4 separate regions of the Homo sapiens genome follow, and all the other regions are linked to region 4. The links are contacts of gene promoters, found by promoter capture Hi-C in blood cells and fetal thymus (Javierre and others, 2016). All regions are on one chromosome and are shown on one strand. Each heading gives the region's core, a stretch centred on a gene start or on the middle of the fragment in contact. The rest is flanking DNA. Distances are from core to core; before and after follow the strand shown.

The links. Contacts are between HindIII fragments. The CHiCAGO score rates a contact against its expected background, and 5 or more counts as called.
Region 1: a contact is called between a fragment that was not itself captured here and the fragment with the promoter of ESYT2 in region 4, in 2 of 17 cell types (monocytes and erythroblasts). The highest score is 7.4, in monocytes.
Region 2: a fragment that was not itself captured here is called in contact with the fragment with the promoter of ESYT2 in region 4 in 1 of 17 cell types (M0 macrophages); the score reaches 5.9 in M0 macrophages.
Region 3: a contact is called between a fragment that was not itself captured here and the fragment with the promoter of ESYT2 in region 4, in 1 of 17 cell types (monocytes). The highest score is 6.2, in monocytes.

What each region holds. Positions count from the first base shown.
Region 1 is chr7:157,386,029-157,390,426 of GRCh38, forward strand. All of the region lies in intron 8 of DNAJB6 (DnaJ heat shock protein family (Hsp40) member B6), which reads left to right. Among named protein-coding and RNA genes, the nearest start is that of DNAJB6, 51 kb to the left of the region's middle. RefSeq lists an enhancer at 4,217-4,398. The HindIII fragment of the contact is 2,691 bases long and covers 180-2,870 here.
Region 2 is chr7:157,318,671-157,323,220 of GRCh38, forward strand. No RefSeq gene overlaps it. Among named protein-coding and RNA genes, the nearest start is that of DNAJB6, 16 kb to the right of the region's middle. The HindIII fragment of the contact is 5,596 bases long and covers 1-4,550 here.
Region 3 is chr7:157,341,727-157,346,108 of GRCh38, forward strand. The region is part of intron 1 of DNAJB6 (DnaJ heat shock protein family (Hsp40) member B6); the gene reads left to right. Among named protein-coding and RNA genes, the nearest start is that of DNAJB6, 6.9 kb to the left of the region's middle. The HindIII fragment of the contact is 2,827 bases long and covers 1,056-3,882 here.
Region 4 is chr7:158,827,997-158,832,492 of GRCh38, forward strand. ESYT2 (extended synaptotagmin 2) reads right to left here and starts at 1,513. Exons shown (of 23, transcript NM_001367773.1): 1 at 1,093-1,513. The coding sequence starts at 1,422. RefSeq lists enhancers at 287-356, 2,367-2,476 and silencers at 477-676, 757-806, 897-1,086, 1,137-1,236, 1,327-2,056. The HindIII fragment of the contact is 12,010 bases long and covers 1-4,496 here.

The DNA.
Region 1 (4,398 bases), core at 275-2,774, 1.4 Mb before region 4:
TGCCAGGACGATTCTTCTACAGAAATAATTTCAATTTTTTTCAGTATTTAGTAGTGAAAGATATTAATACATTAATGGTAATACATTTCTGGTTTAATATAAATTAAGGATGTTTTCTAGTTGTGCATGAATGCTGGCAACTTAGTAAGTTTTGACAATTGTTTAAATATGTAATGTTAAGCTTAGGTTTAAAAAAGTAAAGCTGGTAAACTGGGTCTTTGTCATTTGCTTTAAAAAAAAAAAAAAAGAAAATAAATGCGAATGTGTTGGTGCATTCTTCCTGAGTGGGATCTGGAGCTTTTTTGTGTCTGTGTATGATTTGTGCCTGGGCTTCTAGTGTCACTTTAATAGCGTTTCGTGCTGTTCATTCAGGTGGATGCCGCACCTCAGTTACATGTAGACATTTTCTTCAGTATATTTGAAGTATATGAAGATTTTCATATTGTAAGTTGTGATTTAGCAATTGATCAAACATTTAATTATGGTAACATTTCTACAGGAGAGGGAAGAAACCATTGTATAATTTTTCACTCTTAAAGTATGTTCTAGTTTGATGTAAGATCACTTACGGATCCGGGCGCGGTAGCTCAACGCCTGTAATCCCAGCACTTTGGGAGGCTGAGGCGGGTGGATCACCTGAGGTCAGGAGTTTGAGACCAGCCTGACCAAGATGGTGAAACCCCTGTCTCTACTAAAAATAGAAAAATTAGCTGGGTGTGGTGGCAGGCGCCTGTAATCCCAGCTACTCTGGAGGCTGAGGCAGAAGAATTGCTTGAACCCGGGAGGTGGACGTTGCAGTGAGCTGAGATCGTGCCATTGCACTCCAGCCTGGGAGACAGAGCAAGCCTTCATCTCAAAAAAAAAAAAAAATCACTTTGGGACAGTCAAGGTCTTTTGTTTCTCAGTTTGTAATATCTTTCATGATTACCATTGGTAACTAGAATCCTAGCTGTAGTGAATATTGAACTAGACTTTGACTGAATTTGAAACTGTTTTGGAACTAAACAGCGTGAAAACCGCTAGAAGGACAGGCGGTTCCCTGACAAACAGCGTAGCGTGTTCCATCCGTGCTGGCTTTGCAGGAGGGCATAGAGATTGCTCGGGATACGCCAGAGCCCTTAAGCAACCTCACGTGCTGTTACTGAAAATAAGTAAAAAATATTTTAAGGAATTTCATAGGAGCTCAAAAAAGCATAGCAACAGTTAAGTAATTGGGGACAGTTGAAGTACAAGAAGAACAACGAGTGATGTGCTTGTCTGTTGTGTCGGAAATAACCCAGCACGCGGCACTTCCTGTCTCTGGATAAGGTAGGTATGCAGCCATGGCACGTGCGGGAAAGCGGGACAGCGCCCTCTAGTGTTGGAAATCCCACTCACAACTAGCATTGTGCGATCATAGAGCGCGCTTTTGTTTATGCCATCAGGACGGGTGGTTTTTTGTTACTAAATAAATTCAAGTAGATACTTGGACTAAGGCGTTTTATATTTTTCATTAGTGGGTGGGATGAGTCAGTGCAGCAGCCTTGAGACATCCAGGGATGTCCAGAAATACCAGGAAAATGAAAAGTCTTTACCTGTAATTCTTAAACTAGGAAGCATTTTGCTATAGCGTTGGTACTACACAATTTTAGAACACATTTGGTTGTTCTAGACTTTGTGGAGTGTTTCATGCAACTCTAGCTGTGAACAGTTTACTCAACATGGTGTTACAGGTAAAATATGTTTGACTCCTAAGGAATCTTTCTTGTGAAAATTTTTTTTTGAGGAGGAGGGAGCATTCATTTGTACTTGGGAAAACTACTGTTTTGTTTGTTTGTTTGTTTGTTTGTTTTTTTGAGACGGAGTCTTGCTCTGTCATCCAGGCTGGAGTGCAGTGGTGTGATCTTGGCTCATTGTAACCTCTGCCTCCCGGGTTCAAGCAGTTCTCCTGCCTCAGCCTCCTGAGTAGCTGGGATTACAGGCACCCACCACCACACTCAGCTAATTTTTGTATTTTTAGTAGAGATGGGATTTCACCATGTTGTCAGGGCTGGTCTGGAACTCTTGACTTCAAGTGATCCATCCACCTTGGCCTCCCAAAGTGCTGGGATTACAGGCGTGAGCCACTGCGCCTGGCTGAGAAAATTACTTTTATTCTGTTCTTCCATTGATAGAAGTGTAATTTTATTAAGTTACTAATAGAATAGAAAGCCTATTTGTTGCTGTCAAATCTTACACCTTTCATTTTTAAACCCCGTTAAGTTTATTCCTAGAGAATTCAGTCTAAGGGTGCATGAGAGTACCTTTGAAAAGTTAGGAAATGGCTGTGAGCATTGATACCATCACTCAAGTAAGTGATGGCTTGGAAGAATAATAGCATTTGATTTAAATTACAGTTTTTGGTAAATTCAACAGTCTCTTTACTTGCTGTAGTGTTGAGCGCCTCTGAAAATAGGAAGCTGAACGCTCCTTAACGGCACGTATCTGGTTGTGCACAGCCCCATGTGGTCCCATCCATTCTGGGGTGTGCTGTCTGCTGTGTTTGGTTTGTGCTCAACTTCCCTGTTTGAGATTCTTTTTTAAGTTTTATTTTTAAAGTCTTTAATTTTTAAAAATACTTCAATAGCTTTTGGGGGGGGGGTAAGTGGTTTTTGGTGACGTAGATGCATTATATAGTGAATTCTGAGATGTTAGTGCTGCTGTCACCCAAGCAGTGTATGTTGTACCCAAAGTGTAGTTTTTTAATCCCTGTTTGGCATCCTTTTGTCTGGAGGGCTCAATAATCTGTATTTTTGTCATCTCCTGTTTTCCTATTCCTTGTAGCTCCCCACCCCGTTGGTTTGATTTGAGTGATGGATTATTCCTTATATTTCTATCCTTTATAAAATTTAAGCTTTTTAGATTCCAAAGATTCCAGGCTTGATTTTGGAAACTCGGGGTTTTAAATAATCTGAAAGATGTCAATCAATAGTGGCATCATGGGCGACTTGTCATTCTTCCTCTTGGAAGTCCTTCAATGAGTAGATTTTAGAAGTGGGTAGAGTTAGTGTCACCATTTGCTAAACTTACCTGTGCACCTAGTGTGCTGAAGTAAATGTTCCTTACAATGTGGAAACGCTTGAGGAACACTGTGGGGTGATTGTCTTTCCAATCAATTTTAATTTCTGTTTATTAATTAGAGCTTGAAAAATGCCTGCTTATCCTGTCTTGATTACCTTCTAGATATCATTTCTTTCCGGGAATACTGATCTTGTTTTAAGCACTATAGAATGAATTAGAAACATTTTTATTTGCAGAGGATTCAACGGTAATAAATAATTGGCATATTATCTCTGTTATTGATTGGCAGCAGTGTTGAAATTTAGCCATTAGCATGTTCAGTGACAGAATGGAGGCAGATGTTGTTATTTCGGAGGTTTTCAAGCACAAAATTATGTTTAGTTGATTTGAATACTTGGTTTCGTGGGGTCTGGAGGGGACTGAATTACATAACCCACTGCTGTTTGTATTTTTAAAAACGAAGGCATGAGATCTTACCCTTTGGGGTCTTGATTTCAAAGCCTTTGGATATGGTATTCCTAGCTGTTCTAGGGACGTGGGGGGAGCTAGATGTAGGCCTTGGTACTAAAGTGTGACCAATGGTTGAAATGGGGTAGACCGAAGTCTGTCATTTGGCTACGTTATTTCGTCTTCCTGTTTAAAAAGGTGAAAAGAGGGAATGTCACAGCAGCTATTCCTGTGTTAGAAATCTAGACGTCACTGATTTCCAGAGACAGCAGAGTTTATGATTGGGCGTTAGAAGGCCTGTCCTGGCTTCTGTGCTTTGGTCAGTATTTGCTGCCTTTTGTGCAGGGTATCAGTCGGTCTTACCTAACTGTTCACTAAGGACTCGACTCTGAGCTTTGTGGCCTGGGCAAGTTGCACACTCAGGGCAGACCCCTGACTGCGCTTTGCCCTTTTCCCTGTACCCTGATTGGGAGAAGATTCCTGCCTCGGAGTGCAACCCCAACAGGAATGCAGGTCCTGTGAAGGCAGTAATTCTCGTCTGTCTGGCTGCTGCTGTGTCCTGGCAGGTGTGCCCTGGAAGCATCCCGTGAGTGCTGGCTGCGGAAACCCAGATGGTGGTTGCTGTCCCACAGCCCTTGATTCAGAGATGCCCTGGACCACAGCTGCCTGGAGTGTAGAGCAGAGGCTTACTCCCCACACCCCTCCTGCTGTGCGACCTGCGGCCCAGCCTGCTGTTGGAGGCTTGCCATGTGGATCCGAAGGACCTGCGTCTTGGCTTTACAAAGATTCTCCACTCCTGGGAGCCCTGACTAGCAAACGTCTGTGTAGTGTTGATGCCACACTGCAGTTGTTAACATCGCGTCCTTTTCTGCCCTGTTAGGTTGGTTTCTCTCTTAAACAGGGCAGCGCTGT
Region 2 (4,550 bases), core at 1,257-3,756, 1.5 Mb before region 4:
CTCTTTGGAAGATGAGGCCTCTGGATCTGGTACCATCTGACGCCCCTTCCTGCTGGAAATCTGCCTGATTCTTTGCCAGTCCAGCCTCATTATAGAACTGACTCAATTTATGGCCCATGGAAGAAAATGAAAGGGACTGTTTAGGGACTTTACATACTCTTAGGACTTTTATTAAAATCCCATGTCCCGGCTGGGCACGGTGGCTCACGCCTGTAATCCCAGCACTTTGGGAGGCCAAGGCAGGTGGATCACCTGAGGTCAGGAGTTGGAGACCAGCTTGGCCAACATGGTGAAATGCTGTCTCTAATAAAAATACAAAAATTAGCCAGGTGTGGTGGCAGGTGCCTTTAATCCCAGTTACTCAGGAGGCTGAGGCAGGAGAATCGCTTGAACCCAGGAGGTGGAGGTTGCAGTGAGCCGAGATCCTGCCACTGCGCTCTAGCCTGGGTGACAGGCAACAGTTCTGGGATTACAGGCATGAGCCACTGCGCCCAGCCAAAAAAAAAAAAAACTTTATTAAATTATAAAAAGAGAGAGATGGCTGGGCATGGTAGCTCACACCTGTAATTTTAGCACTTTGGGAGACCAAGGCAGGCGGATCACCTGAGGTCAGGAGTTCGAGACCAGCCTGACCAAAATGGAGAAACCCTGTCTCTACTAAAAATACAAAATTAGCCGGGCATGGTGGTGCATGCCTGTAATCCCAGCTACTCGGGAGGCTGAGGCAGGAGAATTGCTTGAACCCAGGACGCGGAGGTTGCGGTGCACCAAGATTGCGCCATTGCACTCCAGCCTGGGCAACAAGAGCAAAACTCCATCTCAAAACAAAAATAAATAAATAAAAATAAAAATACAAAGAGATGCAGAGTTGACTGGAAGGAAAGGGAGCCAGGTCCTCTGCACCCTGGCCTCTTTGAGCACACCATTGTGATCGGCACCAGAGTTTTGAATTGGCAGGACGTCTAGTACTTCTGGTTTAACCCTCATGGTTTGAATTTTCTCTCAAATAGCATAACAGAGATTAGTCTGCTCTGAGTTTGACTCCTCTCATTACTTCATGAGGCAGCCCCTTCCATTTGGAGAAGTGTGGATGAAAATTATTGCAAACACCCACCTCCTCTGTAAAGCTCCCCCGTGTCTGCTCACCCTGATGACCTTTTAGAGCCCGGGCAGGGACCTGAAGGCTACTGGTAGGGACAGTTTATAACAGGGGACTACATGTCCCGCGAGAGAGGCCACAAGTGGCATAGGTTATGCATGGAGCTATGGTTGGCCTGGAAGGTCACCCCGAGGATCTCATCCTGAGCTATGGTTAGCCTGGAAGGTCACCCCGAGGATCTCATCCTGAGCTATGATTGGGCCTGGAAGGTCACCCCAGGATCTCATCCTGAGCTATGATTGGGCCTGGAAGGTCACCCCTGCATCTCGTCCTGGGTCCAGCTCAGTCTAGGGCTGTCTTTGTTTTATTTTGTTGAGACAGAGACTTCCTCTGTAGCCGAGGCTGGAGTGCAGTGGCTCCATCCCAGCTCACTGCAACCTCCACCTTATGGGTTCAAGTGATTCTCATACCTCAGCCTCCTGAGTAGCTGGGATTAAAGGCAAGCACCACGACACCTGGTTAATGTTTGTATTTTCAGTAGAGACAGGGTTTTGCCATGTTGGCCAGGCTGGTCTTGAACTCCTGACCTCAAGTCCTGATCCACCTGCCTCGGCCTCCCAAAGTGCTGGCGTTACAGGCTTGAGCCACCCTGCTTGGCCTTGGGCTTGTCTTTGAGATGGAGTCTCGCTCTGTTGCCCAGGCTGCAGTGCAGTCGTGCCATTTCAGCTCACTGCAACCTCCGTTTCCTGGGTTCAAGTGATTCTCCTGCCTCAGCCTCCTGAGTAGCTGGGATTACAGGCGCACGCCACCAAGCCTGGCTAATTTTTTTTTTGTATTTTTAGTAGAGACGGGGTTTCAACATGTTGATCAGGCTGGTCTGGAACTCCTGACCTCATCAGCTGCCCGCCTTGGCCTCCCAAAGTGTTGGGATTACAGGCTTGAGCTACCGCCCCCGGCCTGGGCTTGTCTTTTGTTGTTGTTGTTGTTGCTGAGGCTGGTCTCAGACTCCTGTGCTCAGTGATCCTATTGCCTCAGACCTTCAAGCAGCTGGAACTGCAGGTGGAAGCCACCACAGCATTCTGAGCCCAGAACTCTGGGCTCAGAGCCTGGCTTTTTCATTTTTATACTGTGGTTTTTGGAAAGTGAAAGTGTTTAATTTTGAAGAGATCTAATTTATGAATTTTCTTTTTTTTTTTTTTTTTTGAGACAGAGTCTCATTCTGTTGCCCAGGCTGGAGAGCAGTGGCACAGTCTTGGCTCACTGCAACCTTTGACCCCCGGGTTCAAGCGATTCTCCTGCCTCAGCCTCCCTAATAGCTGGGATTACAGGTACCTGCCACCGTGCCCGGCTAATTTTTGTATTTTTAGTGTAGGCGGTGTTTCACCAGCTTGGCCAGGCTGGTCTTGAACTTTTGACCTTGCGATCCTCCCGCCTCGGCCTCCCAAAGTGCTGGGATTACAGGCATAAGCCTCTGCGCCCAGCCATGAATTTTTTTCTTTTATGGCAAATGCTTTTGGTATCCTGAGCAAAAAAACTCTGCCTCCCAGAAAGTCTCAATTATTTTCACCTGTTTTCTTCTAGAAGTGTTATTGTTTCAGATTTTCATTTGAGTTTGTGATCTCTCTTGAGTTAATGTTTGTATACAGTGCAAGGTAGGGATATTTATTTTTATGTTTATTTTTGGAGATAGAGTCTCACTCTCGCCCAGGCTGGAGTGGAGTGGTGTGATCTCAGGTCACTGCAACCTCCACCTCCTGGGTTCAAGTGATTCTTATGCCTCAGCCTCCCGAGTAGCTGGGATTACAGGCATGCACCACCATGCCTGGCTAATTTTTGCATTTTTAGTAGAAATGGGGTTTCACCATGTTGGCCAGGCTGGTCTCAAACTCCTGACCTCAAGTGATCTGTCTGCCTCGGCCTCCCAAAATGCTGGGATTACAGGCATAAGCCACTGTGCTGGGCCACCTAATTTTCAAAAGTTTGGTAGAAATGGGGTCTCACTATGTTACTCAGCCTGGTCTTGAACTCCTGAGCTCAAGCTATCCTCCCGTCTCGGTTTCCCAAAGTGCTGGGATTATAGGGATGAGCCCCTGCATCCAGCGGAAATAAAATTTTTAGAATAAAACTCTTGCATTTTTTGATGGCAGCCCTTATATACTTGGTATTATTATTACTACTATGAATGATATTGAAATCACAGTGAATGCCAATTTGCAAAACATATGAAATACAGAATTAGGCCGGGCGTGGTGACTCATGCCTGTAATCCCAGCACTTTGGGAGGCCGAGGTGGGCATATCATGAGGTCAAGAGATTGAGACCATCCTGGCCAACATGGTGAAACCCTGTCTCTACTAAACACACAAAACTTAGCTGGGCGTGGTGATGCATGCCTGTAGTCCCAGCTACTCGGGAGGCTGAGGCAGGAGAATTGCTTGAATTCGGGAGGCAGAGGTTGCAGTAAGCTGAGATGGAGCCACTGCACTCTAGCCTGGTGACAGAGTGAGACTCCGTCTCAAAAAAATAAATAAAACAAATAAATACAGAATTAATTTCAGTTATGAGCAACTAAATTTTAACTGATAAAATAGAAAGCCCTCAGCAAGGTCAGGAGCTCAAACATGGCCAAGTGCGGTGGCTCACCCCTGTAATACCAGCACTTTGGTAGGCCAAGGTGGGCAGATCACGAGGTCAGGAGATCGAGACCATCCTGGCTACGGTGAAACCCAGTCTCTACTAAAAATACAAAAAAAATTAGCCGGGCGTGGTGGCTGGCGCCTGTAGTCCCAGCTACTTGGGAGGCTGAGGCAGGAGAATGGCGTGAACCCAGGAGGCGGAGCTTGCAGTGAGCTGAGATTGCACCACCGCACTCTAGCCTGGGCATCAGAGAGAGACTCCATCTCAAAAAAAAAAAAAAAAGGAGCTCAAACATGTATTACTTTATATCAAAATAATGATTTGGTCCCATACTTTGTTCTGGGAAGGGTAGGGAATATCTCTTCAATAGAAATTTGGCCGGGTGCGATGGCTCATGTCTGTAATCTCAGCACTTTGGGAGGCCGAGGCTTGTGGATCACCTGAAGTCGGGAGTTCGAGACCACCCTGGCCAACATGGAGAAACCCCGTCTCTACTAAAAATACAAAAATTAGCTGGGCATGGTGGCATGTGCCTGTAATCCCAGCTACTCAGGAGGCTGAGGCATGAGAATCACTTGAACCCAGGAGGTGCAGGTTACTGGGGGCTGAGATCATGCCACTGTACACCAGCCTGGGCGACAGAGCGAGATTCTGTCTCAATAAATAAATAATAAATAAATGAACAAATCAAAAACAGGCACATGCCTGTTGTCGTAGCTACTCAGGAAGCCGAGGTGGGAGGATCACTTGAGCTGGGGAGATGGAGGCTGCAGAGAGCCGTGAGCACGCACTTCATTCTAGCTTGGGCAACGTG
Region 3 (4,382 bases), core at 1,219-3,718, 1.5 Mb before region 4:
TGCTTAGAAAGTATTGATTGAATTAGATTCTTTCTAGTTTGTGTATGTCCTGATGACCTTCCTGTGATTAATAATGGAATCCAGAATTCAAGAAAGTTGGAAAAAATAAGTTTCAGCAGCACTGGAGACTGAGTACTTAACCGAGTGTTGCTTTGTTTATTTTAGAGTCTCACACTGTCACCCAGGCTGGAGTGCAGTGTCGCGATCTTGGCTCACCGCAACCTCCACCTCTGGGGTTCAAGCGATTCTCCTGCCTCAGCCTCCCTGGTAGCTGAGATTACAGGCGTTCGCCACTACACCTGGCTAATTGTTGTATATTTAGTAGAGAGTGGGTTTTGCCATGTTGGCCAGACTGGTTTGGAAGCAGGTGATCCACCTGCTTTGGCCTCCCAAAGTGCTGGGATTACAGGTGTGAAGCACCGAGCCTGGCCCTATTTTATTATAATAATAATTTTTTTTGAGACAGGGTCTCACTCTGTCACCCAGACTGGAGTGCAGTGGCGTGATCTCAGCTCACCCCAGCCTCCGCCTCCTAGTGTCAAGTGATTCTCCTACCTCAGGCTCCGGAGTAGCTGGGATTACAGGCACGTGCCACTATCCTGGCTAATTTTTTTTTTTTTTTTTTTTTTTTTTTGAGTTTCACTCTTGTTGCCCAGGCTGGAGTGCAGTGGTGCAATCTCAGCTCACTGCAACCTCTGCCTCCCAGGTTCAAGCGATTCTCCTGCCTCAGCCTCCCGAGTACATGGGATTACAGGCATGCACCACGACACCCAGCTAATTTTGTATTTTTAGTAGAGACAGGGTTTTGCCCTGTCCAACTCCTGACCTCAGGTCATCCGCCTGCCTTGGCCTCCCAAAGTGTTGGGATTACAGGCGTGAGCCAGCGTGCTGGCCTAACTTCTATATTTTTAGTAGAGATAGGGTTTCACCATGTTGGCCAGGCTGGTCTTGAACTTGTGACCTCAATCCACCTTCCTCGACCTTCCAAAGTGCTGGGATTACAGGTGTGAGCCACCAAGCCTGGCCTATTATGATTTTTTAATGAAAGGGAGTTAAGCTTGGAAGTATCTAATAGGTGATGAGTGCTAGTTGAAGAAATGGTCTCTGATCTTGAGTAATGGGGAAATAACTTCTGTGTTTGTTTCAGAAATATTTTAGGACATACTGGATAATGAAATAAGTAGGTGATGTGTGTGATAAGGAATGAAAATTCACTGCTGTGGGTTTTTTTTTTTCCTACCTGTCTGTACTTTTTTTGTTTTTGCTTTTTTTTTTTGTTGTTTGAGACCAAGTCTCACTCTGTCACTTAGGCTGGAGTGCAGCGGCGTGATCTTGGCTCACTGCAACCTTTGCCTCCCAGGCTCAAGCAATTCTTGTGCTTCAGCCTTCTTTCTGAGTAGCTGGGATTACAGATGTGCACCACCACACCCAGGTAATTTTTTTTTTTTTTTTAAGACAGAGTCTTGCTCTGTTGCTCAGGCAGGAGTGCAGTGGCACTATCTTGGCTCACTGCGCCTGCACCTCCCAGGTTCAAGCAATTCTCCTGCCTCAGGCTGCCGAGTAGCTGGGACTACAGGCGCTCACCACCATGCCTGGCTAATTTTTGTATTTTTAGTAGAGAAAGGGGTTTGCCATGTTGGCCGGGCTGGTCTTGAACACCTCAGGTGATCTGCGTGCCTCGGCCCTCCAAAGTGCTGGGATTACAGGCGTGAGCCACCTCACCTGGCCTCAGATGAATTTAGAAACCACTATTTTTTTTTGAGATGGAGTCTTGCTCTGTTGCCCCGGCTGGAGTGCTGTGGTGTGATCTCAGCTCACTGCAAACTCTCCCGGGTTCAAGCAGTTCTCCTGCCTCACCTGGAACTACAGGCGCCACCACGTCTGACTGGGTTTTGTATTTTTAGTAGAGACGGGGTTTCACCACGTTGGCCATGCTGTTCTCAAACTCCTGACCCCAGGTGATCCACCTGCCATGGCCTCCCAAAGTGCTGGGATTATACGCATGAGCTACCCACGCCTAATCTTTATGTGACGTGTTTTTTTAAAAGTCCTAAACTTAGAGGTCATTGAATTTATTGGAGAAGGTTATTTTTGATTAATGGCGATTAGGCTAATTTTTTTCATGGTTTTAATAGAGATTTTTCGTTTTTTTAAACTTGATTTAGATGTATTGCTTTTGGAAATTGCAGAAATTAACAAACCGAGTTTTCCTAAGAAATATTTTTTCTTAATTTCTTAATTGAAAAGTTTTCTATGGCTTCCTTAATAGACAGTAGGACCTAGTTAATAGTTTAAAGAAGTTTCATAATTGTTATTAGAAATGTTAATTATGGGCCGGGTGTGGTGGCTCACACCTGTAATCCCAGTACTTTGGGAGGCCAAGGTGGTCAGATCACAAGGTCAGGAGTTTGAGACCATCCTGGCTAGCATGGTGAAACCCCATCTCTACTAAAACAATACAAAAATCAGCTGGGCGTGGTGACAGGTGCCTGTAGTCTCAGCTACTTAGCAGGCTGAGGCAGGAGAATGGCGTGAACGCGGGAGGCGGAGCTTGCAGTGAGCCGAGATCCCTCTACTGCACTCTACTGCACTCTGCCTGGGTGACAGAGTGAGACTCCGTCTCAAAAAAAAAAAAAAATAGCCAGGCATTGTGGGACACACCTGTAGTCCCAGGTACTCGGGAGGCTGATGCAGGAGAATCGCTGGAACCAGGGAGGTGGAGGTTGCAGTGAGCTGAGATTGTGCTGCTGCACTCCAGCCTGGGCAACAGAGTGAGACTCAAACTCAAAAAAAAAAAAAAGTTAATTTTGTAGTTAGAGAATATCTTCCTGCTCTACGCAAATTCCCTTCCAGCCTGAAATTATTTGTTTTTTTATTTTTTATTTAAAAAAAAATTTATTATTTTTGTGACAGGGTCTTGCTCCGTTACGTAGGCTGGAGGGCATTGGTGCGTTCACGTCTCACTAGCATCGACTGCCTGGGCTCAAGTGATTTTCCTGCCTCAGCCACTTCCAGTAGCTGGGACTACAGGTGCACACTGCCACACCCTACTGAGTTTTTATATTTCGTAGAGACAAGATTTTGCTGTGTTACTCAGCGTGGTCTTGAACTCCTGAGCTGAAGTGATCCCCCTGCCTCAGCCTGCCAAAGTGTTAGGATTACAGGCATGAGCTACTGTACCCAGCTGTGATTTCTTTTAAAGTGCTACTTTACAGCACTGTCACTTTTATTTTATCATTTTTAACTTTAAAGTTTTTTGTTTATTTTTATTTATTTTATTTTTTGAGATGAAGTTTCGCCCTTGTTGCCCAGGCTAGAGTGCAATGGAGTGGTCTCGGCTCACTGCAACCTCTGCCTTCCAGGTTCAAGTGATTCTCCTGCCTCAGCCTCCCAAGTAACTGGGATTACAGGCGCCCGCCACCACACCTGGCTAGTTTTTGTATTTTTTGTAGAGACAGGATTTCACCATGTTGTCCAGACTGGTCTTGAATTCCTGACCTCAGGTGATCCACCCGCCTCAGCCTCCCAAAGTGCTGGGATTACAGGCGTGAGCCACTGCGCCTGGCTTAAAATTTTTATTTTTTATATATTTTGTTTTTTTCTGAGACAGGGCCTTGCCCTGTCTCTTGTCCAAGTTGGAGTGCAGTGACATGACATGGCTCACAGCATCCTTGATCTCTTGCGCTCAAGTGATCCTGCCATTTCAGCCTCCTGCATAGCTGGGAGTACAGGCATGTGCCACCCCACTCAGCTAATTTTTTTTATCTTTTTGTAGAGATGGTGTCTTACTGTGTTGCCCAGGCTGGTCTCAAGCTCTTGGGCTCAAGTGATCCTTCTGCACATTTCCAAGGTTGTTTCACTCCTGTGTCTTTGCTGTCTAGAAGCTTTTCAGTGTGATGTAATCCCACTTGTCTGTTTCGGCTTTTGTTCCTTGTGCTTTTGGGGGTCATATCCAAACAAAGATTGCTGAGGGGCCAAATTTTAAATTGTGTATAATTTTAATGACTTCAGATTTAAATAGCTGCATTTGGCTTATGGAGTCTTTTGAGCAGCATGGTTTTAAAAAGGTTTTTGCCAAGTGGGGTTCTAATGGACACCTATGCTTGTAGAGCTCTGATGTGAGTGATCTGCTGTAGAAATTACTTCTTTTGATTTAGTATATTATTTTAAAATGCAGGTGATGCACTGGTTTCTTGGTGAGGGAAGCTGGTTTTTCCTGGCTGAGCTTCTGTAGGGTGGAGGGCTGGAGTCCAGGCTCTCGCTGGGCAGGGAAGGCAGCTTGAGTGTGCCTTCCAGTCCTCCTGAGGGCCCACATTTTTCTGGGATCACCTGTTTTCTGTAATGTGCATTGAACACACGGGCCAGGAGAAGAGGGAAGTAGA
Region 4 (4,496 bases), core at 263-2,762:
AAATAATACCATGACTCTTGTTATTGCTGCAACTCTTCCAAAACTTCCTGCCACACACACACACATTCACACTGGATTCAGGTCGATCCCATATAAAAATGCTCAGTCTCACAATTATACTTGCAAAAAAACTGAAACAATCTTTCAATTATCTAATATCTCCACATCTTTCGAGAGACACTTACTGCCCTTGAAATGCGTCAGAAACAACCAAGACACGAGTGCGTCTTCTCCCGGTAGAAGAAAAAGTTAACTTCTCCCCCACCAGCTGTCATTACGTTTTTTAAAAAACAGAGAGAAGGAAAAGCTGAAGCCACCCGGAGCATTTCCAGGCCGGCAGGGCTTTGGGAATGCGCACGAGAATCGCGCTGGGCGCTCTGAGAGCAGAACCGGCCGCTCAGGCCCCTAAGGAGACCCCGCGGGCGGCACCAGGAGGAAGCGCGCGCTCCGGGCAGGGCCGCGGCCGAAGAGGGGGCGCCAAGCCCGGTACCTGCCGCTGGCGCTCGGGGTCTGCAGGCCGGGGGAGGGAAGCGGGCTTTGTGAAGAGGGGTCTCCGAGAAAGCCGCGCGGGACGGCGAGGGGAGGCTTCACGAGGGCAGACGCGCCCCGGACCCGGAGCCTGGGCGGGCGGGGAAGCGGAGAAGGGGACGCCCGACTTGGACGGAGGGAGGGCACGGAGCACTCAGGACTAGGGCGGGAGCGGCGAGCAGCGGGCGGCGGCCCCAGGCGGACAGGTTCGCAGGGAGTGGGCCGGAGGCCGGGGCGGGGCTGGGGTCTGCACTCGCCCTAGCGGGCAGGTCGCCAGCAGGCTGGGAGTCGGGGCCGGGGGGCGGGGCGGGGTCTGCACTCACCTAGGTTGGCAGGTCGCAGGAACCGGCCCGGGGGCCGGGGCTGGGGTCTGCACTCGCCCAGGCGGAAGGGAAGCGCCTGCCTGGACCGGGGTGGGTGGGGGACTACGAAGGCGGGAGCCGGGGCAGGGCTGGGGTCTGCACTCACCCAGGCGGCAGGTCGCGGGGAGGGGAGTGCCTGCCTGGACGAGGGGAGATCGGGACTGGTGGTCAGGGGTCGGGACGGGCAGGGGTCTGCACTCACCCAGGCGGGCAGGTCGCAGGCGCGCACCCCCAGGCGCACGACGCGCTCCTCGTCTTCCAGCAGCGCCAGCGCGCGGCACAGGCGCAGGGCCTTGAGGCCGCGGCTGCGGCGACACCAGGCGAGCAGCGCGAGCGCGAGGAGAACCCAGCTGAAGCTGAGCCCCAGGTAGCCCAGCGCGTACACGGGCAGCAGCAGCGCGAAGCTCCGCGCCAGCTGCGCCAGCAGCCCGGGCAGCTCCACGCTCAGCACGCCCCCGGGGTTCTCAGGCGCCGCGCGGCCCCCAGCCCCGCCGGCGCCCGCCTCCGGGCCCTCGCCCCGGGCGCCGCTCATCGCCCCGCAGTGCCGCGCTGCCCTCCCGGCCGAGGCGGGCTGGGTGCTCGCGCTGATCCCGGGCGGCTCAGCCCCGCGCCAGCGCCCCTCTGAGGGGACGCGGCTCCGCCGCACGCCCGCCTCCGCCCGGGACGGTGGCGTCATCACGCGGGGCGGGAGCGGCGTGGGCCTGGGGCTGGCACGTCACCGGGAGCGGGCGGGGTGGATACTGACGTCATCGCGCGGGGCGGGCCGTGGGCCGGGTCGGAGACTACTGGAGTGGGCCGGGCAGGCGCACGACGTCATCACGCGAGCGTTGTGTCTCGGCTGGCGGGAGCCGGGGACGGGAAAGGAGAGTGCTCGGTGCGTGGGCTGGGCGTGCCTGCGTCCCCTCGAGCCCCACGGGGCACCCTCCCCACTTGCCTGTGGCCTCGGAGCCCGCGGGCGGTTTTGGCTCGGCGTCGCGCCCCGAGGCGGCTTCCGGGTGCGTGGCTGCGCTCGCCGAGGCCCGGGAAGTTGCCGTCGTCAAACCCAAAGGCTGACCGCCTCTGGGAGCTGCTGGCAAACGTGGGGGTGCGCGGCCGCTGAGCGCAGCCGGGGTGGCGGTGGGATGAGAGGGCGGCGTCCCTGTTTGCGGTCATTTTGCGGCCAGGAGGACGGGTGAGAGGGCGCCGCCCGCCGGAGGTCGGACGGGCGCCGCTGGCGGGAGTCCTCCGGTATTTTTCGGTGTGAGGTTGCCTAGCCAGTGTGCAAGGTTGTGGCTTTTGCGGAGTCTCTCGGGACGGTCTTGTTATCGGGCATTCCGGCGTGAGAACGCTGCCTCTGGGGCCCTTCCCACCCTGCTTGTCAGGGTTTTAAACACAAACGACTCCGTTGTGACCTTGACAACTCTCACACAGTTCAGTTGGCTTTTAAGATGCCTTTAATCCCAAAAGTCCTCCCTGAGGGGTCTGGTAGTGCCGGGCAAAGACCACCGCAAGCGCCCAAGGGACGCTGTTGACACTCGGGAACTCCACCCCGGGCACCACGCAGCTTCGCCGAAGGTGTTAATATTGTGGCCAACTATGAATAGCTGTTTCAAACGACTAATTTTGGGCCTTTCCTGTGATTCCTGAGGTCACTTTTCAGTTAACTCAAAAACACAACTATTGATCACTTTACTTTCCAGTGAATTCAATCGAGTTAATTATATTTGTTCTGTAGTTTCTTTCAAGGAAACTCCAAGCCAAACAGTAGCAAAGAACATCCTACTTGACTGTTTTTGAGCATATTCAGTGAATTCCAAGGAAATTTTTACTGAATTTGTAACAGAGTAGGGCACTGGCAGGTACTGAATGAATAAACAAATGCCCAGAAGAAGCAGGGTCACCTTTACATAGGAATCTGTCTCCCCTCGTTCCTGCGTCTTCATAATTTTGTGTGCATATGTATGTGGAGATTATATCACATATGTAAAACATTGCAGAGTCTAAACTCTCAACTCCAGGCAAGGGCAGTAAACCCCAAGCAAGGAATGGAAGTGGTTTCCCTTTTCTTACTCTTCACAGTCCCTGGTTTGCTGCAGCAACAAATTATATTATGTAGATTGTAAATATGCAACCGGTTAATGCTCCTAACACCACCTTTCATTCAAAACTAAGCCTCAACACAAAAGCAAGTAATTGCTTTGTTGACACAGAAAGGAGCCTGAGCCTTTCTTTTGCAGCTTTCCTCTACTGGAAAATTGTAGGATCACATCCTACAAAGACTTGCATAAACATAAGCCACGTAAAAAATTCTGTAATCCCAGCACTTTGGGAGGCCGAGGAGGGCAGATCACGAGGTCAGGAGATCAAGACCATCCTGGCCAACATGGTGAAACCCCGTCTCTACTAAAAATAACAAAAAATTAGCCGCGCATGGCGGCGCGCACCTGGAGTCCCAGCTACTCGGGAGGCTGAGGCAGGAGAATTACTTGAACCCGGGAGGCGGAGGTTGCAGTGAGTCGAGATCGCACCACTGCACTCCAGCCTGGGCGACAGAGCAAGACTACGTCTCAAGAAAAAAAAAAAAATCCTGTGCCATGTGCCATCCAGTGGTTGACCCAAGGATGTAAACTAGATTGAAGAGAAGTTTCCATGTTGCATACCAGTCAGCCCAAGTGTCCTCAGCTTCCCTCTGTGTGAGCCCCGGGTTTCCAGCCCCTCCCTGTGGTTAATTGCCTGCAGAAAGCAGATCCTAAGGCTCTGCCACAGCTCAGTCTTACAGGTGTCTGGTCTGACTGCAGGTCCAGCTCGGCTCTTAGATTTTTGCTAATATTATACCCCTCAATCTCCTGTGACCTTTCATGACCCCTCCATCCTTTCCTTCTTGTAGACAAGGAGAAGTGCTGCTTTCTCTGGAGTGTCATTCCGAGTGCTCCGGTGCACAGCTGCGAAGTTCCAGCCTTCCTGGTTTCAGAGGAAAGTGCTATCTTGTGCTTAGGTTCAACTCTTCCTGCTTTTGGGTCCTCCCCCACACCTCTAAATACGTCTCGTTATGGAGGGTGGGAGCACGTGCTCTGCATCTCTTCAATTTGGAGGTTATACCAGCAAATTAAATATACTGGGGACAGTGAAAGCCAGGTTTCTTGCTGTTGGAGAAGGTAAAAACATGGAAGAGGGAAGGCTAAAAAGAACACTGAGGGATTGGATTGGAACTGGAAGTGGTAGTATGAACTCATTTTTTTAAAATATGTATATACAGATAGATATAAAGATAGCTGTATGTGTGTGCACACATGTGTAGGTATATGTGCATATAAACACAGAAATAGTTTCTAGTTCTGTCTGCTGAGTATCTAGATGCAATGGTACCCCAGTACCAGTGATCACAGCTAGCCCCCAGATCTTATCTTCTAAATAAGGTTTTCCAACAAAAGGAATCAGGGCTCTTTGGAGAAATGGTTAATTTCAGGGCTGGAGTGGAAGTACAAGATGATCCTGGAATAATTTTGTTGTTCAAGGAAGTGAAGAAGTGCTCAAAGATTGACAGGAGATCAAAGGACATGGAAAGTAGTTGGAGGGAGTTCTTGCTGGCGAAATCTAGGACAATTTGAGCAACAAAACAAAGAATGA